3 separate regions of the Homo sapiens genome follow, and regions 1 and 2 are each linked to region 3. Evidence: promoter capture Hi-C in 16 types of primary human blood cells and fetal thymus (Javierre and others, 2016). All regions are on one chromosome and are shown on one strand. The core of a region is centred on a gene start or on the middle of the fragment in contact, and the rest is flanking DNA. Distances in the headings are between cores, read along the strand shown. Region 1 overlaps C5orf67 (chromosome 5 putative open reading frame 67). Region 2 has its middle 96 kb from the start of MAP3K1. Region 3 holds the start of C5orf67 (chromosome 5 putative open reading frame 67).

Region 1 (3,773 bases), core at 531-3,030, 85 kb after region 3:
CCAAGAACTGAGTGTTTTTAAAAAGTTTTAAGAGCTCCACTGGTGAGCCAGTAGAAGTAGGTGTTTTGCAGTACTGGTGTCTGAAAAGCAATTTTTCAAAAGGCAAATCCCATTGTTCTGTGGACTTCAGTTATAAAATCACAGCCACATTCCCACAGGCTAGAATGGAAAAGTCCAGTTCCTGAGTCACTGGGTTGAAAAGTTTTGGCAAGAATTGGCCAAGTGACCTGGCCTGGCCCAGGGAGGGCAGAACTCAGAAAGTTACACAATTGTCTCCTGACCCTGGAATCTCCTTTCCAGGGCAAACCCCATTCTTTTTCTTCCCCTTTCCCCTGCGTTTTATTAAACTTGTAAAGGCCTCCAACTACACTTTAGTAACTGTCAGCACTGCTTCCTATGATTCCATCTACCCTATTTACAAAGTTGAATAATGGAGCAAGGGCTGCAATAGCACAGTTTCATGTAGGAATAATCATCGAATGCAGGTTTATTCTAAAGGGAAAATTCCAGATTCCAGACTTAATGCCTTGTTTTATGACTCCTAGTAATTTCAAATACCTATATATCAAATCTGCCTGAAATATGTGTTTGAAGTAATGGAGAATTTAGAATGATGAATTAAAATTTGCCATTTTATTAATTGCATTCTGAGGCCATTTTCCTAAATGCAAGATTTGGGGAATTAATTCTAAGCATGATTTGGAGTTCCAGCCAATTCAAGAATAATCCAAGCAAAATAAAATAATGAAAACCCAAAGACTTTGATTATCTTTAAATTGGCCTATCATATCCTTATAATTTAATTTGAATGCTTTCACTCTCTTCCCCATCCCTTATCCCAGAACAACCAAATATACTTCTTTTTCAAAAAGGTAGGCAGTATACATTTTGTCCTTGTCTATTCTACCCGAGATGACAGTCATTATGATAAATGGACCACACACAGAACTGAATCTCTCCGTTGTGGCTAAGGTCTGCAGCATAAAATTGAGAGGACTATTGTGCAATGTATAAGGCACAGATTTCAAAGCCAAGAGACCTGGCTCTGAGCTACCTCTTACTAGCGTGTGCTCTTGGGGAACTGTTTTAAGGTCTGTGGGCCATTGTGTTCACATCCGTAAAGTGAGGACCACAGTGCCTGCTCACATGGTGATTATGTGGGTTAGGAACTGCTGGTACAAAGCAATCGCTCAATAATTACTAGTTTTAGGAGGACTTAAACAAATATAATGGTAATTCTCAAAGTTGAGGTGGGGGCACAATACAGGGAGACTCTTTTTTTTTTTTTTTTGAGATGGAGTTTCGCTCTTTCACCCAGGCTGGAGTGCAGTGGTGCGCTCTCGGTTCACTGCAATCTCTGCCTTCTGGTTTCAAGCGATCCTCCTGCCTCAGCCTCCCGAGTAGCTGGGATTACAGGCACCTGCCACCACGCCCGGCTAATTTTTGTATTTTTAGTACAGATGGAGTTTCACCATGTTGCCCAGGCTGGTCTTGAACTCCTGACCTCGTGATCTGCCTGCCTCGGCCTCCCAAAGTGCTGGGATTACAGGCATGAGCTGCCATGCCCTGCCCTGCAGGGAGACTTTAAAGAGTATTATTTGAGCCCCTCAGTGGGCACTTTTGTACCCCCTCCTCCATTATCTCTGTCACGTATACAGGGTAACTTGGTCCTGGTTCCTTTCTCCATTTCACCCTACTCCTAGGAGGTTCATATGGCGGGCTAGCTCAAGGCCATACATGATGGTGAAATAAAAGAGCTGAAGGGAATTTCCTTTAAATGGCAATATATTATCAAACGCCAGAATAAATGTGTTCACACTCTCTAAGGCACACACCCACAGATTCTCTCATAATGATGCAAATGACTAAAAATCATGTTAACTCAATATGCTTTCTGAAAGCATTTCCATTGCCAGTCTGTGGGAAGTCAGCATTCTGGCACTTGAACCCCCTCATAAGGGCTTGATTCTGAGGGGTACAGGAAGTTGTGAGTCTGACCAGAGGCAAGACAAAGCTCTTTAGGTGTCAGAGTGGGAGCCAGCCAGGGCTGCTGAGCCTGCCTTGCCTCATCTCAGAATTGGCATGACCTCTTGTAGGGAGGGCAAATGGTAGTTACCGAGACAGGGTGGGTGGGGTGTTATAAACCAATGCCAAGAGTTTCTAAAACCCCAAACAGTTGTCAAATAAGAATGACGAGCACCGCAAAATGCTGCCACCTTTCCCACCCACACGGAGCACGGCTGCCATGTCCCTGCAGAGCTCCTGGCAGAGCAGCCAACAGCCGCTCTGCGCCTCAGGCATGGCAGGCAGTGAAGCATTGTTCTCCCTTCTATTTCTTAGTGGCTGGATGCTTCCCTAGGTGAACCATAACAACAGAGCGGGCTGATGAGAACAAACTAAAATTACAAGTGACGTCTCTACAGCTGAAGGCAACATAGGCACAGCCCATAGAGGAGATAGATGAAGACAAAAATTTCTTTCTTGGGCTCACTCTTGCATCTCCCCAGTGACCAATGCTATCTGGGTTATGGGTTGAATGACCACACATTTAGTTAACTCTGATTGTGCCCTTTCAGTCTCAAAAAGTAATGATTTAGATAATAAATTACATAATCACCTTAGTTATGGTCATAAGCCATGGGACTTATTGTACAGTGTATAAGGCACAGATTTCAAAGCCATCCTTTGCTAGCTGATGGGAAGATGCGAATAAGGTGGAAAAAGGCAGAACTTGGGCTTAGGAGCTAGGCAACTTTGTAGGTGAATAGCAATGAAATCAAAATTACATCCAAACAATGCAATGAGCTCGGATCCATGGGTGTCAGCATCCATCTCTGGCAGGGGCTGACATGGTGGTGGAGAGGGGCTGGAGTGCGGGCAAATGGCAGCATCGTGGCCTCCAGGGATCCCCTGGGTTTGCAGCAGGACACCAGGCAATGGCTGGGGCTTGGGGAGCAGGGCCTCCCTTGGTGTGAAGAATGTGGCAGGAACCAGGCTGGGTTAGAGCAAGGAACTAAGACAGATTCCAGATGTACATACTGGGAAGCGCAGCAGGGGTCTGTTGCGGGGAAAGCTGAAGTCCAGCAGGCTTGTGGGTCCAGCAGGCTCACTCCAGGTGCAGTCTGCTGTGCTCACGCCACACACTTACCTCTGTTATTGCATTTAATCCTCACAGTAGCCTCGAAAAGTGGGTGTTATGTCCCTTAGAGAGGTTTGGCAGCCAAAGCTCAGAGTTTCAGTGGCCTGCTGAACATTACAGAGCCAGGAAGTGGCAGAACCAGGACTACACCCCTGATCAATCTGTATGTAAAATCTGTGCTCTTTTCTCTCCACTATACTGCCTGAAAGATAAGGACTTATTCAGGCTGGCAATTTGGAGAAGAGCATTGGTGCAGAGTAATCTGAAAGTGTGGTGTATTTGGGGTGGGGCCAGCGATGGGGTATGTCTGCAACAGAAGAAGCACATGGCAGAGACTGAGCAGGCAGGAGAGGGGCTGGACAGAAAGGGAGTGGAAATGCGGCTCTCACCTGGAGGCAATGGGAAGAAGCAGAAGAGTGACAGCATCCAATGTGGGTTTCAGAAGGTTGAGATTGGCAGCAGGGTGATGGCTGGACTCTCAGTGAGGGGTGTGGATGCTGGAGAAGAGGAAACCCCTTAAGAGGCTAGTCCAGAGAAATCTTTCAAACGTGTGGCTAATACCCACTGAGTCCCCAACTTTAAATGCATAAAGCTTCCCCATGGCCTTTGGGATGAAGTAGAAGCTCCTAAGCAA
Region 2 (3,921 bases), core at 1,353-3,852, 110 kb before region 3:
CGAGATCGCACCACTGCACTCCAGCCTGGTGACAGAGCGAGACTCCATCTCAAAACAACAACAACAACAAAAAACACTTTAGAAAGAAAAACTATATCTATTGAAAATAATCGTGCCTTGTAAATAAACACTGATGAAAGGTAAAGGTTTGGTTATATAACTAATATACATCTACTTATTTCAAGATCTAATTATTAGTGATTAAATAGTGAAAGTGAAGCAATAGTGCATATTCCATGCCAGTATTCTATAAATGCATTGACTTGTCATGTTTTTCCATTCATCTAATTTTAAGAGCAAGTCCTCTTTATCCAAAATAACATAAGCCACATAAATAATTACCCAAGGCACAAAAAATATAAATGAAATCCAAGGTCTTCAGAAGTCTCTGGACTGAAGTCTTTTAGTCTTCTTTGACTTTTGACTTCTGTTTTAGGAAATAAATTTGCCTGTGGAAATTGAAGGACCATACCACGTAAGTATAAAATAGTTCTGAAGGCAAAAGGAAAGTGCCTGTAAAAGTCAAACTTTAAACCTCAGGAACATCTTGCGTCCCATTAGAGCAATGAAGAAAATCTTGTTTTGCTTCTGGGATTTGGCATTGCAATAGCCTGGGGAACTGGACACTGCTTCCCTTCAGAAATAAAGTTGTCCAATATGTTTAGACTGCAAAGAACTTCTAATTGATGGTGGTGCTAATGAAGCAGTTGCATATATTCTATGCTGAGGGGACAATTGAGCACAAGAATAGGTCCAAATAATTTTTCCTTTATAAGTAGGTGAGGTGCCTTTTTTTTTTTTTTTGCTGCCTTGCTGCTGTTAGGAACTGCATCCTCCTCCCAAGTCACTGCTGAGAGTCTGGATCTTTTGTGTACAATTGTCAAGGGTTTTCTTACGCTTTCAAAATAAGACTATCCCAAGAATACTCATATTTTTGTTTCTACAACATTTGGGATGCCAATTTCTAAACTGAGCGATAAAATGTAATCTGCTAAATATGAAGGAATCTTTATTAAGATATCAATTATTGTCTGAACTTCTAATCCATCTCTTCTGCTTAGGAATTTTTTTAATGAATATTATTTGTCAATGAGAATATCAAGTGTTAAATGATTTATTAAAATAAGACAATACAGCTCTAAGTTAATTACCATAGAAAAGGTAACTTTTCTAGAGATCACAGTGTATACAACTTAGATTTATTGGAAGGCTTTAGAGTATATAAACTTTTTATATGAACCATTTGAAAAACTGATATAAACAGCTAAAGGGAAAAGAAAGAAGCTATGAAATTTACAATTGGGTGATCCTGAAAGAGAAAAAAAAAATCCTGTTAAGTTTACATAAAAACAACAGAAAGTAAGACATGGCACCATTCCTTTTGGGAATAATAGAATCCACGTTTAAATCCTGACTTGTTTCTAGACTGTAGGCTTCAGTGGGATCCTGGAACCAAATTTGGAGCTTTACAGTGAAGTCTGGAGAAGGAGGAGTGGCTGCCTGGTTGGAAAGACTTAATTATAAAGAACTTCTTCTGAGCTTCTTTTGTTTTGGTAGAAACTAAAACATGCCCTGGTGGTGTGTGTATGATGCCAAAACATCTGAATGAAAATCAAATCGCAGCCCCAATTTACAGATGCATGCCTTACATCCATTCCAAATGCAGGGGCAGTCTTTGGAATGGAAGCCTATTTTTCTCAGGATCAGGGATGGGCAGTCAAGAAACAGGGCTACCCTCCCCTCGCAGCTGACACTCTTTGGGACTTCCTTCTGTCCTCCAATTGGTTGTTGGCTTTGCTCCTGAGAAGAATGGCATCCTCGCACTGCTCCACTTTTGTCCTTGTTTCTTACTTAACCTCCCTGAGTCTCATTCCCTCTTCTGCAAGAGACCAATTCTTGATCAATGACAAGAACTTGGGAAATGTTCATTCCCTTCTTAATGTACCTTCATTTTCATCCAGATGGTGGTGGCGATTATAATAGCAAAAGGGAGGAAAAGAAGACAGGAAGTTGATTCTTCCATAGGTTTTCTCCCTTTGCTACCTGTGAGGTCCTTAAGTGGAATTCCTAGTCTCTGCCTTTAGGGTCTGGCTCTTCTTTCTTTTTTTCTGGGGCTCCATATTCAGAGAGGTCATTGACATAGAATGTTCCTCTGAAATGCAGACGCATGTTTTTCTTTAGACCTCTATGTGCTGTAAGACCTGCCTTATTTCCTACTGTCATCCTTGTCTTTCCCTATAGAATATTACAATTATGAGTTGACTCAGGAGGGAGCTTTGAATTTTCTTTTCCCAGTTTCCTAGCAAGGTGCTTTTTTGAAAGCCTCAAAAAAGATTTTGAACTTGCTTTAAGAAAAGGATGGCTTAAGAGAATTGGGAAGTGGGTCAGGGTAGAGTGTGAAGCTTGAGGCATGTGAAAAGGTGATGATGGCAGAAAGTCGAAGCAGGTAGAGCCACCCTGAGGTGCTCAGAGAAGAGTGTCCAGAAGCTGACGGACACCAAGAGGGCCCCGAGGAGGAGGCAGATTTCCCTGGAACCTTCTTTTCCCAATTCTGCTTTTTGAGTTTTCCACGTTTCTCCTCTGGAATCCTCATTCCTGCTGCTGGCTAGCTGGGGTGAAAGGTGAGAAAGAGTCACTGATCCCACCAAAGTGTTTGGAATTCATTTTCTCCCAGAGTCATCACTGAGCTGTTGGATGGAACTCCTCGCATGGCATGTGATGCCTCAGGTTCCTTGTCAGCTGCCCACCTCTTAGAGCTCGTTTCTTTGGGAGAAAGTTTCCTAAGAGCTCCAAACAAGCTTGAAAGCAGATTTTGGGAATAGTACCTGTTCAAAAGTTAAGTCCTTCCAATAATGCAGTCAATTATCTAGATTTTTCTAAATGGCCGATGGTCTAATATTAAATGCCATCTATTGGGTTAAAAGGTTTCTGAATGTTTGGGAAGACACAGTGCCATCACCAGAAAATGAAACCAGCCTACTGTAGCACCTAAAATCATAACAAATAAGCAATCTCTTATTTATAGGAGGTGGACTTTGATTGTAGATAGATACAGCTGTTTTGCGAAATAACAGCTGGCTTAGGTTTCTTTAGTGGCTTATACCATCGGTAAATCTTTCCTGATGTGCTTAGTGTTTTCAATTTAATTGGCTGCACTTAAAGCGTCTGAACTTGCAAAAACAATAGAGAAGTACATTAAATGAGTGCAATCAAACACAAATGGCTTAAAGTTACATCAAAATGGAAAATATAGATACATTATTTTATTTAATGTACTGCACTCAGACTGTTAAAGCTTGAAAAGGAATAGTAATTATGTAGTCATTTAAAAAATGTGTTTTCAAAGAAACACATTTAATTGCTTGAGAATGTTTCCATTATAATAAGTGGAAAAAAGCAGATCACAAAACGATATTTTGGAAAATCCCAATTTTGTAAAATAACTATATATATATATATATATATATATATATATATATATATATGCGTGTGTGTGCATACACACACATATGAACATACACAAACATAATGAAAACTTAAAAGACTTGAAAATAATAAAGAAAAATTAAAATATTAACAGTGATCATCCAAATGGTAGAATTAGGTGTGATTTTAATTTTCTCTTTTGTATTTTTCCATATTTTCTATAAGGAGCAACTGTTAATTTTCATATAATGTTTTTAAAAGAAAAAACACAGAAGAAAAGAAAATTAAAATGAACATAACCTAACTTTAAAATCAAAATCCCACTGCAAAGGAAACATTTCTTTCAAGTAAGGAAAGAGATATGCTCCTGAACCAGCAGGAAAAAAGAGAAAGGAAGATTGTAACTGGGTCAAGTACATGTCCAGCTTTCTCTGCAAAGCTCAGGCATTTTTCTTTTTACAACTGCATCCAACCTCTCCAAAGCTGCTTTCTTTT
Region 3 (3,869 bases), core at 903-3,402:
TTTCCATCCCCCGCTCCCTGCCCCTGCAGAATTCTCAGCTGAGTGCAGTAATAGCATGACTGGGCACTTTAAGTCTGCCATTGTGCCATAACTTCCTCCTTGTCATTGCCCGTTAGCATCTCCTTTCTGAGAGGGTGGCAGGGGCAGGGCCACATATGAACTTGAATGGTGAGGTGGGGTGCAGTTGCTATTTCTTGCCAATACCCAAACTTCCAGCTGCATATTCAAGTCTCTGACTTGGAGCCGGGCAGCCAGAGAGGCAGGAGAGAAGGACCTGGGCAAGAAGAACAAAAAGGCCCCACTGCACGGCTCCATCCCCATCCTCTCTGTCTGCATCCCTCCAGTGTGGAGCTCAGGTGTGGGGTCCCCAGCACCTCCTCAGCAGGTAGCTTCCTGAAGCCCAGTACACTCTCACTCCCAGGCCTGCTTCCTCTCCACGCCTTTCCCGCTCCTCCCTGCATCTCAAATTGGTTCTTAGAACCCCTGCCACATCCAAGGAACTACTTGTGAAATACCTTTGTGATTACAGTTTATATGTTTAATTAGAAGCTGGGAATTAAGCTTCCAAACACCACAAAATGAAAGCTTGAGATTCTTCCAACAAACCCCAGCTTTCCACGAACATGGGCTGACTCATCCGTCTCCTGCTCTCCCCTGTCGCCCCAGCCCTGTCTTTCATGCTGAAGTCATTCACTTTCTTCACCTGGATTTGGAAAACTGCTGATGTCTCGTTTAGCTTCATTCCTAAGTTGTCTTTCAAAAGCAGGGACATGCAAAGTGGCTGCCTGTGGCAGAGGCAGCAGGAGAGGGGCACACTTGTTGAGTCTGAGAACTTCACAAAGACTGTTAATTAATTGCTCATTTCGACAAATGAGAACAGATTTCAAATGCATAGTTGAACGTGGAGCAGGAAGAACATCTTGCTCTTGTGACTTGGTTTTAAACGTTGCATCTAGAAGATGGGGTGATACTGAAAGATGTCACTTATTTCCTTTTGTGAATTGAGATAAAATGGTTCTAATTCTTTCACTGCTTTCTGGCTTTAGGGCCCTGCGAAAGAATGTTTATTCTTTTGCTCTTGGTGGGAATTGGATGTCTGTCGATTTAGCATATGTTTAAAATATTTTAGCTTTGGAAAACTGCCCTGATAGCCTTCTCCCTCTAGTCAAAATTAATCTCATCTTCCCGCAGCTCTCACAGCCAGTGATTCATGGCTCTAATACAGCCCTTCTCATATTCTTCTTTATTCTATAAAGACTTACTTTTCTATAAAGACTTTTATTTCTGTTTGTCTCTTACATCAAATTGAAAGTTCTGTGTGGAGAAGAACTCTGTCTTACACATCTTTGTGATTACCTGAGTCTAGTCTGGTACATTATATTTGGCAGCATTCAGTACGTATTACATTGAATCTGGAAGATCACACAGAGAGGGGGATTCTGAGGGGTGGCAACAACCACTTTTGTAGCAGACGCTGTTGGTGTCCAACCCATGTCCCCTTGGCCACCCCAGAGTTTGGCTGTAGTCACATGCTGTGTAGACAGACAACCTCCTGCTTCTCTCTGCCTGAGGGCATTCTTCAGCCATAGAAATGAGCTTGGAAGCGGCTGGGTATGGTGGCTCACACCTGTAATCCCAGCACTTTGGGAGGCCGAGGCAGGCGGATCACAAGGTCAGGAGTTCAAGACCAGCCTGGCCAATATAGTGAAACCCCATCTCTACTAAAAACACAACAAATTAGCTGGGTGTGGTGGCGGGCACCTGTTATCCCAGCTACTCAGGAGGCTGAGGCAGAAGAATCACTTGAACCCAGGAGGCAGAGGTTGCAGTGAGCCGAGATCGCACCATTGCACTCCAACGTGGGCAACAGTGCAAGACTCCATCTCAAAAAAAAAAAAAGACAAAAGGAAAAAAGAAAAAAGAAATGAGCTTGGAAGCACACAGGTTAGTCTGCAAGTGCCAGGGAATTATTGCCCAAGGAATGACCCTTGGCCAAAGAGGGAAAGTCCTGGCTGGATAAATAATCCAAAGTCCTTGCCCTCATTCCAAGGAATGTTCTGCAGTCTCCTAAGGGTTTCCTGCTAGAGGAAGCCCTGATTGCCCAAAGCTTCTTAACACATTCTTTATTAGCTTTCCTCTCTTCCCTGTTTCATATTCCCTGTGCTCCCCTGGGATCAACAGCCAAATGAACAACTTCACCTGAGCCCTTACCTCCAAGGAAGTGCCACAGGGGAACCCAAAGGCCCTTAATCATTAAAAAAAACTTTAGAGATGCTGGCTGAGCCATCAGTGAGAACATGGATGCATACACAGAACCTACATCTTGTCATCTCTGCTCTTCGAGGAATGGAGCTGGAGAGGCAGAGAAGCAATGAAGCCGAATTCTGTGAGTGGGACTTCTGCGCAGCGGGGGAGGGAATTTCTACTTCTGGCCAGGAAATAGAGCTGGTGCCTTGTAGAAAGGCTCGAGGTAATGCAGTCAAAGGGCAAGCTTAGAGCAGTATGTGAAGGAATCCACCAAGGATTAGAACCAGCCAAGGGTCAGACAAACCAAATGAGACCAGAAGAGGAAAGTGGTGTCTTGGCAGAAAGGGCTTCCAGACCCATAGTCACAGGAATCTTCAGGAGAGGGGTGAAGAAGAAGGCATGGATCGCCAGGCCCAGGAGAGTCTAAAGCTGGTTTGGTGGGGAAGAATTTGGCCACATCTGTGCAGGATCCTAGAGAGTGGGGCAGAGGAGCTGGGCATCTGCTGTCAATGAGGCCAATTAAGAACAGTCTCAGGCTTGGGTCTCAAGCCTCAGGGATCTAGAACTTATCTGGTTTTAGCTGCTCTATATTCATTTCTTAGGAAGAGAGAGAGAGAGAGTATGTGTGTGTGTGTCTGTGTCTGTGTATATGTGTGAAATTTCTCTCAACTGAAACACAGGGCAGAACACTAGATGAAACTAGTGCTGTACTTTTCTGCTTATCTGTCGACACAGTCTTAGTGCGCAAAGTCTTGGTCTTAGTGGCTGGGTGTGGCAGTTTCCCAGAGGTGGGGGGCAGTAATAAAGAGAGAGAAAGGGAGACCTGATAGAAGATGGAGACCAGATAGAAGGCATCTGCTACGTGCATAGGTGCCCCTTTCTGAACAAGCTGTTTTTTGGTTACGAGATCCATTCCTGAAATCGATTTTAAGATATTCTGTGTTGGGTGATGTCACAGAAGCACTACTGGTGCACGGATTTGAAAAATAGTGGCTCATCCCGCCTCAGGGTTTGACAGCTTGGTAACTTGCAGTGAGGTTTCTTTTAACAATGAAACCAAGTCCTTTGAAAGACAAAAAAAGAACAAAACATCCACTAATTTTTGCGTGCAGGAGTAAGACAACAGTATTGGGAGATCTCAGCTATAAATGTGCCAGCTCTGGGAACTTTGGTTAAGTCATTTCACCATTCGCCTGTTTCCTCACCTATAACCAAGGAGGCAGCCAAGCCATCCCTAGTATTTCCTGGAATTCTGAGATCCTAAGTCAGATTGTTGAGTCTGGAGAGGCTGGATTCAGTGATTGACTAGGAGGGGCCTGTTTGTGTGGCTGTGTTCTATATGGCAAAACTTTGGTTCAGCACTTTGGCCAAGTCGGCCTCCACAGAAATGAGGATGTAAGAGCCTTTCCAAAAATCATATTAATTGAAACTATGTGGAGTCTGACTTAACTTCCATCTATATGCCTCCTTTCCCTTCTTCTAAGTTGTTTTTTCCCTAGTATTCCCTCAAACAACCACCTTTGTTCAAGTCTAAATGAATGTCTTTGGTTTCAAGATAATTCTCCCTTTTCAAGCAATTTCTGAACACCCTGTCCTGCAGAGAGTGGCCCGGGGCGGGGGGA

The links. Contacts are between HindIII fragments. The CHiCAGO score rates a contact against its expected background, and 5 or more counts as called.
Region 1: a fragment that was not itself captured here is called in contact with the fragment with the promoter of C5orf67 in region 3 in 2 of 17 cell types (naive B cells and total B cells); the score reaches 7.2 in naive B cells.
Region 2: a fragment that was not itself captured here is called in contact with the fragment with the promoter of C5orf67 in region 3 in 2 of 17 cell types (total B cells and naive B cells); the score reaches 7.8 in total B cells.

Annotation. Positions count from the first base shown.
Region 1 is chr5:56,519,605-56,523,377 of GRCh38, reverse strand. The region is part of intron 4 of C5orf67 (chromosome 5 putative open reading frame 67); the gene reads left to right. Among named protein-coding and RNA genes, the nearest start is that of LINC01948, 40 kb to the right of the region's middle. The HindIII fragment of the contact is 3,906 bases long and covers 1-3,733 here.
Region 2 is chr5:56,717,919-56,721,839 of GRCh38, reverse strand. No RefSeq gene overlaps it. Among named protein-coding and RNA genes, the nearest start is that of MAP3K1, 96 kb to the left of the region's middle. The HindIII fragment of the contact is 396 bases long and covers 2,405-2,800 here.
Region 3 is chr5:56,604,539-56,608,407 of GRCh38, reverse strand. C5orf67 (chromosome 5 putative open reading frame 67) reads left to right here and starts at 2,152. Exons shown (of 6, transcript NR_161255.1): 1 at 2,152-2,386. The HindIII fragment of the contact is 384 bases long and covers 2,110-2,493 here.